Regions from separate parts of the Homo sapiens genome. Here region 2 is linked to region 1. The links are contacts of gene promoters, found by promoter capture Hi-C in blood cells and fetal thymus (Javierre and others, 2016). All regions are on one chromosome and are shown on one strand. The core of a region is centred on a gene start or on the middle of the fragment in contact, and the rest is flanking DNA. Distances in the headings are between cores, read along the strand shown. Region 1 holds the start of STX1B (syntaxin 1B). Region 2 has its middle 4.8 kb from the start of ITGAM.

Region 1 (5,139 bases), core at 1,528-4,027:
AGGAAGAGGAAGAAGAAGAAGAAAAGAAGAAGAAGAAGAAGAAGAAGAAGAAGAAGAAGAAAGAAGAGGAAGAGGAAGAGGAAGAGGAAGAGGAAGAAGAAGAAGAAGAAGAAGAAGAAGAAGAAGAAGAAGAAGAAGAAGAAGAAGAAGAAGAAAGAAGAAAAGAAGAATGGGCTTTGCAATCAAAAGATACAAACAAGGTCAGACACAGTGGCTTATGCCTATAATACCAGCACTTGGGAAGCCGAGGTGAGAGCCCAGGAGGCTAGGACCAATCTCGTCTCTGCAAAAAAAAGAAAAAAAGAAAGTTAAATTAGGGCCAGGCACAGTGGCTCACACCTGCAGTCCCAGCACTTTGGGAAGCCAAGGCGGGTGGATCATTTGAGGTCAGGAGTTCCAGACCAGCCTGGCCAACATGGCGAAACCCTGTCTCTACTAAAAATATAAAAATTAGCCAGGCATGGTGGCAGGCACCTGTAATCACAGCTACTTGGGAGGTTGAGGCAGGAGAATCACTTGAACCCAGGAGGCGGAGATTGCAGTGAGCCAAGATCGCGCCATTGCACTCCAGCCTGGGTGACAGAGCGAGACTCTCTCTCAAAAAAAGAAAGAAAGAAAGAAAGAAAATTAGCTGGACACAGTGGTGTACACCTGTAGTCCCAGCTACTCAGGAGGCTGAGATGGGAGGATTGCTTGAGCCCAGGAGGTCAAGGCTGCTGTGAGGTGTGATTGCACCACTGCACTCCAGCCTGGGGAACAGAGTGAGACCCTGTCTCTGGAAAAAAAAAAAAAAAAGCAAACAAGACCCCAGCCCTGCCCTTTATTAACCTTGTGAACTTGGATATGTTATGTGACCATGCAAAGCCTCAGTGTCCTTGTCTATACACTTGGGATCTTAGCAGTGGCTACTGTGAGGTTGGGAGGTTTCTGGGAGCTACCAGCATAGTGAATGCAACACGTTGGATGCCCAGAACGTGCTGGCATTATAATGGCGGGGAGGCAAGGACAGCTTTCTGTGCTTTGAGTGGCTGGGTGGATGGAGATGACGCCATCTCTGAGGGAGAACACAGGAAGGAACACTTTGGGGACAGCCACCTCCTTGAGGTCCCCACGTCAGCGCTAGCCATGCCCACTGTAGTCATGGATCTACTCATGGCTCTGGTGGCATCTTCAATCTCTGTCTTCTTGGTGCCCAGCTCAGAGCTTAGGCATATAGTAGGGGCTGTCTTACAGGGGGAGGATCTGGCTCGCAGGTACAGATGTGGGCACTGCAGACACGGAGGTGCAGAAAGATGCAGGTAAAGAAGGAAGAGAATGCCAGGCATGGTGGCCCAGGCCTGTAATCTCAGCACTTTGGGAGGCTGAGGCAGGAGGATCGCTTGACCCTAGGAGTTCAAAACCAGCCTGGACAACATAGTGAGACCCTGTCTCTACAAAAAATAAAATTAGCCAGGTGTGGTGGCGCGTGCCTGTAGTCCCAGCTACTCAGGAGGCTGAGGTGGGAGGATCACTTGAGCCTGGGACGTTGAGGCTGCAGTGAGCCGAGATTGCACCACTGTACTCTAGCCTGGGCAACAGAATGAGACCCTAACTCAAAAAAAAAAAAAAAGAGAGAATGGACGGAGCCCAGGGAACCCTGAGGTTGAAGGGCTGTGGGAAAAAAGGTAAGGACCTGGAAAGAGGCTGGGAGACAACACTCACAGATCAGGTTGGGGGGTAGGTGGGCGGAGCACCACAGACAGGAGGGTTTCAGGAAGAGGGGCTCATCAGGGTCACATGCTGCTGAGAGGTCAGGGATGGTAAGGCCCGACTGGCGGTGTGGGATGAGGGTTTATCAGACACAGATTTGGCACCAAGGAGGTCACTGGGTACCTGGCAAGAGAATGCCGGGTGCGGTGGCCCAGGCATGGAATCCCAGCACTTTGGGAGGCTGAGGCAGGAGGATCGATTGAGAGTCAAGACCTGTCCCATTGGGGACCGGCGCCCCATTGCAGGGGGTGGGAGGAGCTGGTGTGGTGTAAGGATGGGGAGAGGAGAGGTGGGCATCAGAACAGGAGGTCACTCAGACCCTCAGGGGCACCTGATTTCCCCTCCCACTAAGGACAAATTTCATGTTCAACAGTCAGAGCCATCTGCAGATGGGCCAAGAGGTCCTGGGAGGTAGTGAGCACCCTGTCCCTGGAGGCAGACAAGCAGAGCTCCGAGACCCACCGCGGCGGGAGAGGCCCAGGCTGTGCAACACAAGCCCCGTGTCCTTCTCAGCAAGCACCTGGCTGGTTCCCTGCATCGTAAAAACCACACAGAGGGTCGGTCTTTCTATTTATAGTGTCCAAAGAGCCTCCTGCAAGAACACACATGGGCTCGCACCCAGAGGTGGTCGGCGCGCAGCCTCACGCAGACACCAGACACAAAACACAGCCGCGATCTGTGTCTCCTGGAAAGGGATCCACATCCTGGCTCCCAGGTTATTCCCTGAATTCATTCCGTCACCCCCTCTTTCCGCCGGGCCACCCCACCCCCCGGGCCACCCTAGCATCTCCGCTTGGCTCTCCGCATCTCTCCCTGCTCCTCGGGCTCTGCCCACCCCCACCCGCCTCCAGGCCTCTCCCGCCCCCTCCTCGGGTGTCCCCCAAGCCCGTGACTACAACCCCCAGGCGCCCCCGGCCCGGGTGCTGCGCATGCCCCCTGCTCCTTGCGCGCTCCCGCTCCCCCCGCCCTCGCTTCCTCCTCACCTCCCTCCGCCCCCCTCCCCCGCGCTCGGCTCCCGCATCCCTCCATCCTACCCTGTGCCGCAGCCGCATCGCCACCGCAGCCCGGCAGAGCCGAGCCCGGCCCAGGCCCCTGCCCCTGCCCGGCCCTCGGCCAGTCGCCCCCGGCCCCGCCCCCGCCCGCAGGCCCCCCGCAGCGGCCGCGGCGCCCCCCGGCGCCCCCAGACCCCGGCCTCCGGCACAGAGGCGGGAGACCCGGAGCAGCAGCAGAGGCAGGAGGACTAGGAGGAGGAGGAGGAGCCGTCGCAGGATGAAGGATCGGACTCAAGAGCTGCGGAGTGTGAGCTTGGGGGTGGGGAGAATGGGGGGGCGGGACCCCAATATTGGGGGAGCGCGTGGGGATGGAGTGGGGGAGGTGCTGGGACGTGGGGGCGAAGGATGAGATCGGAGGTTGGTAGCCGGAGCACCCCAGTATCTTCAGGCGCCTGATGTCTCTCCAGTGAACCTGCATTTTGGGGACAGTGCCTGGAAGGGGTTGGAGGCCATGAAGACACAAGGGGGCAGGAGAGGTCTCAGGGGCCTCGAACACCCCGCATTCCCAGGAGGGCCCCGGGGTCTGGTCTGGGGATGGGAGAGAGTGGATATCAGGAGAAACCGGAGGAGACTGTCATCCCCTGGGCAGGTTTGCCAAAGAGAAGCATGGGGGCGGTGACTGGGCCAGGCTGAGAGTCTAGCAGGACCCAGATTCAGGGGATGCTACGGGGAAGGACACAGGTTGGGACTGAGATGCCAGCACCTGGCAGTGAATGAAGTGTGTGTGTGTGTGCACACGCGTGTGTCACTCCCTATAGGGAGGGGGCATCTCTCCGAGACAGGGAGGGAAGAGGTGGCCTCCGGAGAGAGCCAGAGGGCCAGGGCCTGAGACAGGGTGACCCAGAGGTGGGAGATGGGGATGCAGAGGAGAGGGCCATGGAACACGGGCCGTGCTCTGCTTGGGGGAACTGGGGCACCCCGGGCAGTCAAGGGCTGATGCAGGCCCCAGGTCTGCAGGCCTGAAGAGGCCCGGCTCCAAGAGTCTGGCCAGGCAGTCCCTGGTTTTGGGGGGACAGGGGAAGGACTGCAGTGGAGGCTGCTACCTGGAGGAACTGGGGAGTGGGGTTCGATGAGAATGGTTTCAGGGGCAGGGAGGACGCTGGGGTATTTGGAGAAATGACCTGGGGCCCGAGGAGGCAGCACTGACAGTCCGCACTGTGCTGGGCTGGTGGTGTTATGTTAATAAGGGTACCGGCCCCGGCTGAGCTGCCCAATGCACTGAGCCTTTACAGGGAACTGGTGGGTTGTTACCCCAGGGGTTATTACCCCACTTGACAGATGAGGAAACTGAGATTCAGGCGTGGGAAGGGACTTGTCCAAGGTCACCAAGCAAGTGGGTGGGGGGCAGACTGCAATCTGGGTTTCCTGTCTGCTAGGTTGACACAGGTCTCTGCTTTTCTGGCCTTTGAAACAGAAGTTTCAGCACTGGGGGTGAAGAGCTGTCCCCTGGATTTGGGGGTGGGGACCCAGGTTACAGACAGACGAGAAGAAGGTGTTTGGAGGCAAGTGACCGCTGTCTCTGGGGACAGACAGGTTGCCAAATGGGAAGCAAGGAGGAGCTGGTGGCTGAGGGAGGGAATTTTAAAGGTTTCTTTATTACATTTTTACTGAATATACACTCAGGCATGAGGAAAGTGACAGTAATAATAAACATTGTTTGAAGTGTTTTATGCATATTCACTCATTTTGATCCTCACAGCAATCCTATGAGACTGGTTATCTCATTTCATAGATATATAAATATCTTTTTAGATATATAGATATATGTTATCTCATTTTATAGATAAGGACACTAAGCTCAGAGAGGTTAAGTAATTAGACCAAAGTCACACAGCTGGTAAAGGCAGGATTCAAACCCAGGCAGGCCGGCTTCAGCATCGGTGCTGTCAATTCCCCTCCTCAGTTTGCAGAGCAGGCTTTCATCCGTGATGTCATTAGAGCCCCACTGACCTCCTGGCAAGTGGACGGGGAGGCTCTTTCATTTTAGAGTTGGGGAAACTGAGGCCCAGAGTGGTTGAATAACTTTCCAAAGGTCACACAGCTAGCAGGTGAGGGATCCGGACTTGAACCCAGTTCCCCTGCTACCAGGACTATTCCATGACTCCAAAACCCAGGGAAATGGAAGTGGGTTGGGATCAGGTGGTGTGGAATTGGGGTACAATTCGAGAAAGAGGGAGGGAAAAGGCTAAGCGGGGTAAGGGGGAGGCAGGGGAGGGGGAGGCCTCATGAATGAGTCAGGGGCCCCTGCTCAGAGGTAAGGAATCCTGTTGGCTGTGGCTGCCGGAGGTGGTGTGGAAGGGTGAAGGGGCTGAGTGGATGTGGTGGCTTTGGTATTAGT
Region 2 (5,139 bases), core at 1,789-4,288, 240 kb before region 1:
TCTGTTTATAATTTTTATATATAGCCAGGTGTGGTGACTCCTGCTTGTAATCTCAGCACATTGGGAGGCCAAGGCAGAGGGATCATTTGAGCTCAGGAACTCAAGACCAGCCTGGGCAACACAGCAAGACCCTGACTCTACAAAAAAATGTTTAAAAATTAGCTGGGCATAGTGATGCACACCTGTGGTCCCAGCTACTCAACAGGCTGAGGTGGGAGGATCGCTTGAGCCAAGGAGGTTGAGGCTGCAGTGAGATATGATTGCACCACTGCACTCCAGCCTGGAAAACAGAGCCAGACCCTGTCTCTAAAATATATATAGGCAGGGCATGTAATATATACAGGCACGCCTGTAATCCCAGCACTTCGGGAGGCTGAGGTGGGAGGATCACCTGAGATTAGGAGTTCAAGACCAGCCTGGCCAACATGGTGAAACCCCATCTCTACTAAAAATACAACAATTAGCCAGGCGTGGTGGCAGGCACCTGTAATCCTAGTTACTTGGGAGGCTGAGGCAGGAGAATCACTTGAACCTGGGAGGTGGAGGTTGCAGTGAGCTGAGATTGCACCATTGCACTCCAGCCTGGGCAATAGAGCTTGACTCAGTTTCAAAAAATAAAAAATTAAAATTAAATAAATAAGTACATACATACAAAAATAAATCATATATATATATATATATATATATATATATATATATATATATATATGCAGGAAAACCAAATGTTAATAGTCGTTATCTCCAAGATAGGAGGATTACAGGTATGTTCCAGTATCTATTGCTGCAGAGCGAGCTACTCCAAAACTTCATAGTTAAAAACAGCAGCATATTATAATCTCTCGCGTATCTGTGAATCTCCTGGCCTCAGCAGTTCTCAGCGGGGTCTCTCACATGATTGCAGTCGGATCACAACCAGGGCTAGAGTAATCCAAAGCTCAGTTGGGCTGGGCTCCCAAAATGGGTCACTCCCACAGCTGGCAGTTGGCCGTGGGCTAGGAGCTCAGTTGGGGCTGTCACCTGGGCACCCCCACGTGCCCTCTCCATGTGGCTTGGGCTTCTCGCAGCATGGTGGCTGGACTTCAAGAGCAAGTGTTCCAACAGACAGGAAGCAGAAATTTCCAGGCTACTAAGGTCTTGATCTGGAAACTGGCGCCAAGTCATCTGCACCACATTCCATTGATCAGGCAGTCACAGAGCTCATCCACATTCAAGCAAAGGGGACACAGATCCCACCTCCCAATGGGAGGAATTTGTGGTTGTATTCAATCTGCTACAAGATGACTTTAATATTCTTTTCTATATCATTTGTACTTAAAATATTTATATAGGCTGGGTGCAGTGGCTCATGCCTGTGATCCCAATGCTGTGGGAGGCCAAGGCAAGAGGATCACTTGAGCCCAGGAGTTTGAGGCTACAGTGAGCTATGACCTCAACACTGCACTCCAGCCTGGGCAACAGAGCAAGACCATGTCTCAAAGAGAAAAAAAAAAAAGACCTTTATACAAAAAAAAGACTCATAATCATAAAAAATACCAATAGATAATTTAAAACAACAGGTTACCTGTATTTGTTAGCAGGTAAAGAAGCTGAGGAAAGGACGAACGAAGTCATGAGCCCAAGATGAGAAGATACCAACCAGGGTGCCCGGGGAGGAGTTTAGTAGATCAGCTGGGTTTGCTTTGGGAAAAGTTTTCACACTCTGGCCACTATGGGGGCTGCTCGAACTCAGACGTGGAGGCCCCTCCTTGCCCTGAACAGTGGCCAAGGGTCCACTCTCTGTAAAAACATAGGCAAGATCTCAGACTGGCTGTCCAACCTGCAGAGGCTTTCTCAATGAGCCACCACCAAGTGTGCACCTGACCTGGTGACCGTGGGTGGGGACATATCTATAAGCTGTTGGCTGTTCCCTCCTACCTGTCCCCCATCCCCACTCTTGATAAAATCTTAGCTTGATTTCCCCTATAAGTGGACTCTGAGACAAGGCTTCAAGTGTAAGTAATTTATCTGGAAGGTGATTCCGGAAACACTGGTGGGAAAGTGAGGAAAAGAAGGAGCTAATGCCAGGCACAATGGCTCACTGCCTGTAATACCAGCACTTTGGGAGTCCAGAGTGGGAGGATCGCTTGAGCCCAGGAGTTCAAGACCAACCTGGGCAACATAGGAAGATTCTGTCTCTTAAAAAAAATTTTTTTTTAATTATCTAGTGTGGTGGTATGCACATGTAGTCCCAGCTACTCAGGAAGCTGAGGCAGGAGGATCACTTGCACCCAAGGGGTCGAGGTTGCAGTGAGCTATGATCATGCCACCATACACTGTACTCTAGCCTGGGCAACATAATAAGACCCCGTCTCTTAAATTTTTTTAATTAAATAAATAATTAATTAATTAAACATTAATATGTATCAAACAGGTGTGGGAAATCAAACTATCTCCCTGAAAACGCACTTCGCAAAATGTCCCTTGGACATTTTGAGCCCAAGTGTTGGAGGCTGCAGTGAGCCATGATCACACTACTGCACTCCAGCCTGGGCAACAGAGTGAGACCTTGTCTCAAAAAAAAAAAGAAGGAAGAAAGAAAGAGCTTATAAAAGATATGTAATTAAACAAATTACTGGCCGGGCATGATGGCTCACGTTTGTAATCCCAGCACTTTGGGAGGCTGATGTGGGTGGATCACCTGAGATCAGGAGTTCGAGACCAGCCTGGCCAACATGGCAAAACCCGTCTCTGCTAAAAATACAAAAATTAGCCAGACATGGTGGCATGCGCCTGTAGTCCCAGCTACTCGGGTGGCTGAGACAGGAGAATGCTAGGAACCCGGGAGGTGGAGGTTGCAGTGAGCCGAGATCATGCCACTGCACTCCAGCCTGGGCAACAGAGCAAGACTTCATCCTCAAAAAAAAAAAAAAAAAAAAAAAAAAAAAAGATTATTGACCTGGTGCAGTGGCTCACGCCTGTAATCCTAGCACTTTGGGAGGCTGAAGTGGGTGGATCACTTGAGGCCAGGAGTTTGAGACCAGCCTGGCCAACATGGTGAAATCCCATCTCTACAAAAAATACAAAAATTAGCTGGGCATCATGGTGCATGCCTGTAATCCCAGCTGCTCGGGAGGCTGAGGCATGAGAATTGCTTGTACCCGGGAGGCAGAGGTTTCAGTGAACTGAGATTGTGCCACCACACTCCAGCCTGGGCAACAGAGCAACACTCCATCTCAAAAAAAAAAAAAAAAAAAAAAAAAAAAAGAATAGAGAGATATGTCATCTTCATGGATGACAAGACTACAAGACTACAGATGTCAGTACAGATGTCGGTTCTCCATTTAATTACTCAAATTCATTATAATCTCACCCAGCAGAATTTTTCTAGAATTTGACGTGCTGATTCAAAAATTGACTGGACTAGAAAACACACAGCAATAGCCTATAAAGCAATGGGACATACCTTACAATGTCATGTTATTCCATAACAAGTACCCTATCAAAGCAATATTCTAAAGCCACAGTAGGTAAAAGTACAGTGTTGGCTCTGGAATAAGTATATAAGACCCTCGGAAAGAATACAAAATACGTATGTAGAAATCTGGTGTTCCCATCAGAAACAATACATTTCTCCTACTGAAAAAGCAAACAAGACTTTCTTTGATTCCACTCCCCTCATCAACCACTGCCCATTTTTTACTTCCCTTTTGCAAAACTTCTCCAAAGTAGTTGTCTGTGTTGGCTGCACCCTGTTCTACTGCTCACATCCTCCCTTAACCCCATTCCAACCAAGCCTGTGCTCCAACCCGGCACCTACTCCACCTAAACTATTTTTATCAAGGTCACCAAGGCTGCCTGAGTGACTCCAGTGATGAGTTCTGTCTTCATCTTGAGTGACTCAGCAGCAGCTTCTGACACTCGGCCCTCGCTTCCTGGAACTGATTTCTACATCTGTCCTCTGACCCCACACTCTCCTGCTTCCCGCCTACCGCCCATGACCCTCCTTCTCAGTTTCTCTTGCTGATTCTCCTCTTCTCCCAACCTCTTCAGAAGGATCTCAGAGCTCAGTCCTTTGACTGCCTTTTTTCTTTTTTCCAACTCCTGGGTTCAAATGATCCTCCCACCTCAGCCTCCTAAATAGCTGGTACTACAGGCATGCGCCCCCATGTCCAGGTAATTTTTCAATCTTTTTGTAGAGACGGGGTCTCACTAAGTTGCCTAGGCTGGTCTCAAACTCCTAGCCTCAAGCCATCCTCCCACCTCAGCCTCCCAAAGTGCTGGCATTACATGCGTGAGCCACCGTGCCCAGCCGAAGTCAATTTTCAGTACAGCAGTCAGAGGGATTGTTTCAAAACACAAGACATATCATGCCACTCCTCTGCTCAAAACCTTGCAAAGGCTCCCACGTTACTGATAGTAAAAGCCAGTCCTTTCTACAACCTACAAGGACCTGCATGACCTGTCATCCCAACCCCAGCCCTTACCTCTCTGAGCTTACCTCATTTTCTGGGACAGCAGCCACCCTGGCCTCCTTGCCATTCCTCAAACCTGCCAGGCACACCACCACCTGAAGGCCATGGCACTGGCTGTTCCCTCTGATGGAACCAATCTTCCCCCAGGGATCGGCAGGCTCACTGGCCCACCTCCTTCAAACAAGTGGGTTTTGCATCACATGACTCTCTATACTCAACTTCGCAAACCTTCTTTGCCACATTCCTCAACATTTTCCAGTTTTGCTCTCAGGGGAATGAAGGTATCAGGTCTTCATCGTCCCTTTTCCTGCACAGCACCCAGGGTCACGGCTTCTCTCTTCCCAACAAAATCTCCCAGTCCCACCTCTCCAAATTTCCTTCCTTGTCTACACAGACAAATTATCTCCGTCTGAGCTCCTCCAATTTGCTTCGCTCACCACACTCGAAGAAACTTGCTACAGGATCCGCCCTCCTGAGAAAGTTGTGGGAAGAACAAGAATAAAATACTGTTTTTCCATTGCACTGGATTGTCAAGAAAAGTTCCTGTGATCCTGTCAGGCCTCTGAGCCCAAGCTAAGCCATCATATCCCCTGTGACCTGCATGTATACATCCAGATGGCTTGAAGCAACTGAAGATCCACAAAAGAAGTGAAAATAGCCTTAACTGATGACATTCCACCATTGTGAT

Evidence for each region. The method cuts DNA at HindIII sites, captures the fragments that hold promoters and counts their contacts. A CHiCAGO score of 5 or more calls a contact.
Region 2: a contact is called between a fragment that was not itself captured here and the fragment with the promoter of STX1B in region 1, in 1 of 17 cell types (neutrophils). The highest score is 6.8, in neutrophils.

Annotation. Positions count from the first base shown.
Region 1 is chr16:31,008,276-31,013,414 of GRCh38, reverse strand. It overlaps STX1B (syntaxin 1B), which reads left to right and starts at 2,777. Exons shown (of 10, transcript NM_052874.5): 1 at 2,777-3,048. The coding sequence starts at 3,019. RefSeq lists an enhancer at 2,240-2,741. The HindIII fragment of the contact is 27,284 bases long and covers 1-5,139 here.
Region 2 is chr16:31,252,556-31,257,694 of GRCh38, reverse strand. No RefSeq gene overlaps it. Among named protein-coding and RNA genes, the nearest start is that of ITGAM, 4.8 kb to the left of the region's middle. The HindIII fragment of the contact is 7,238 bases long and covers 1-5,139 here.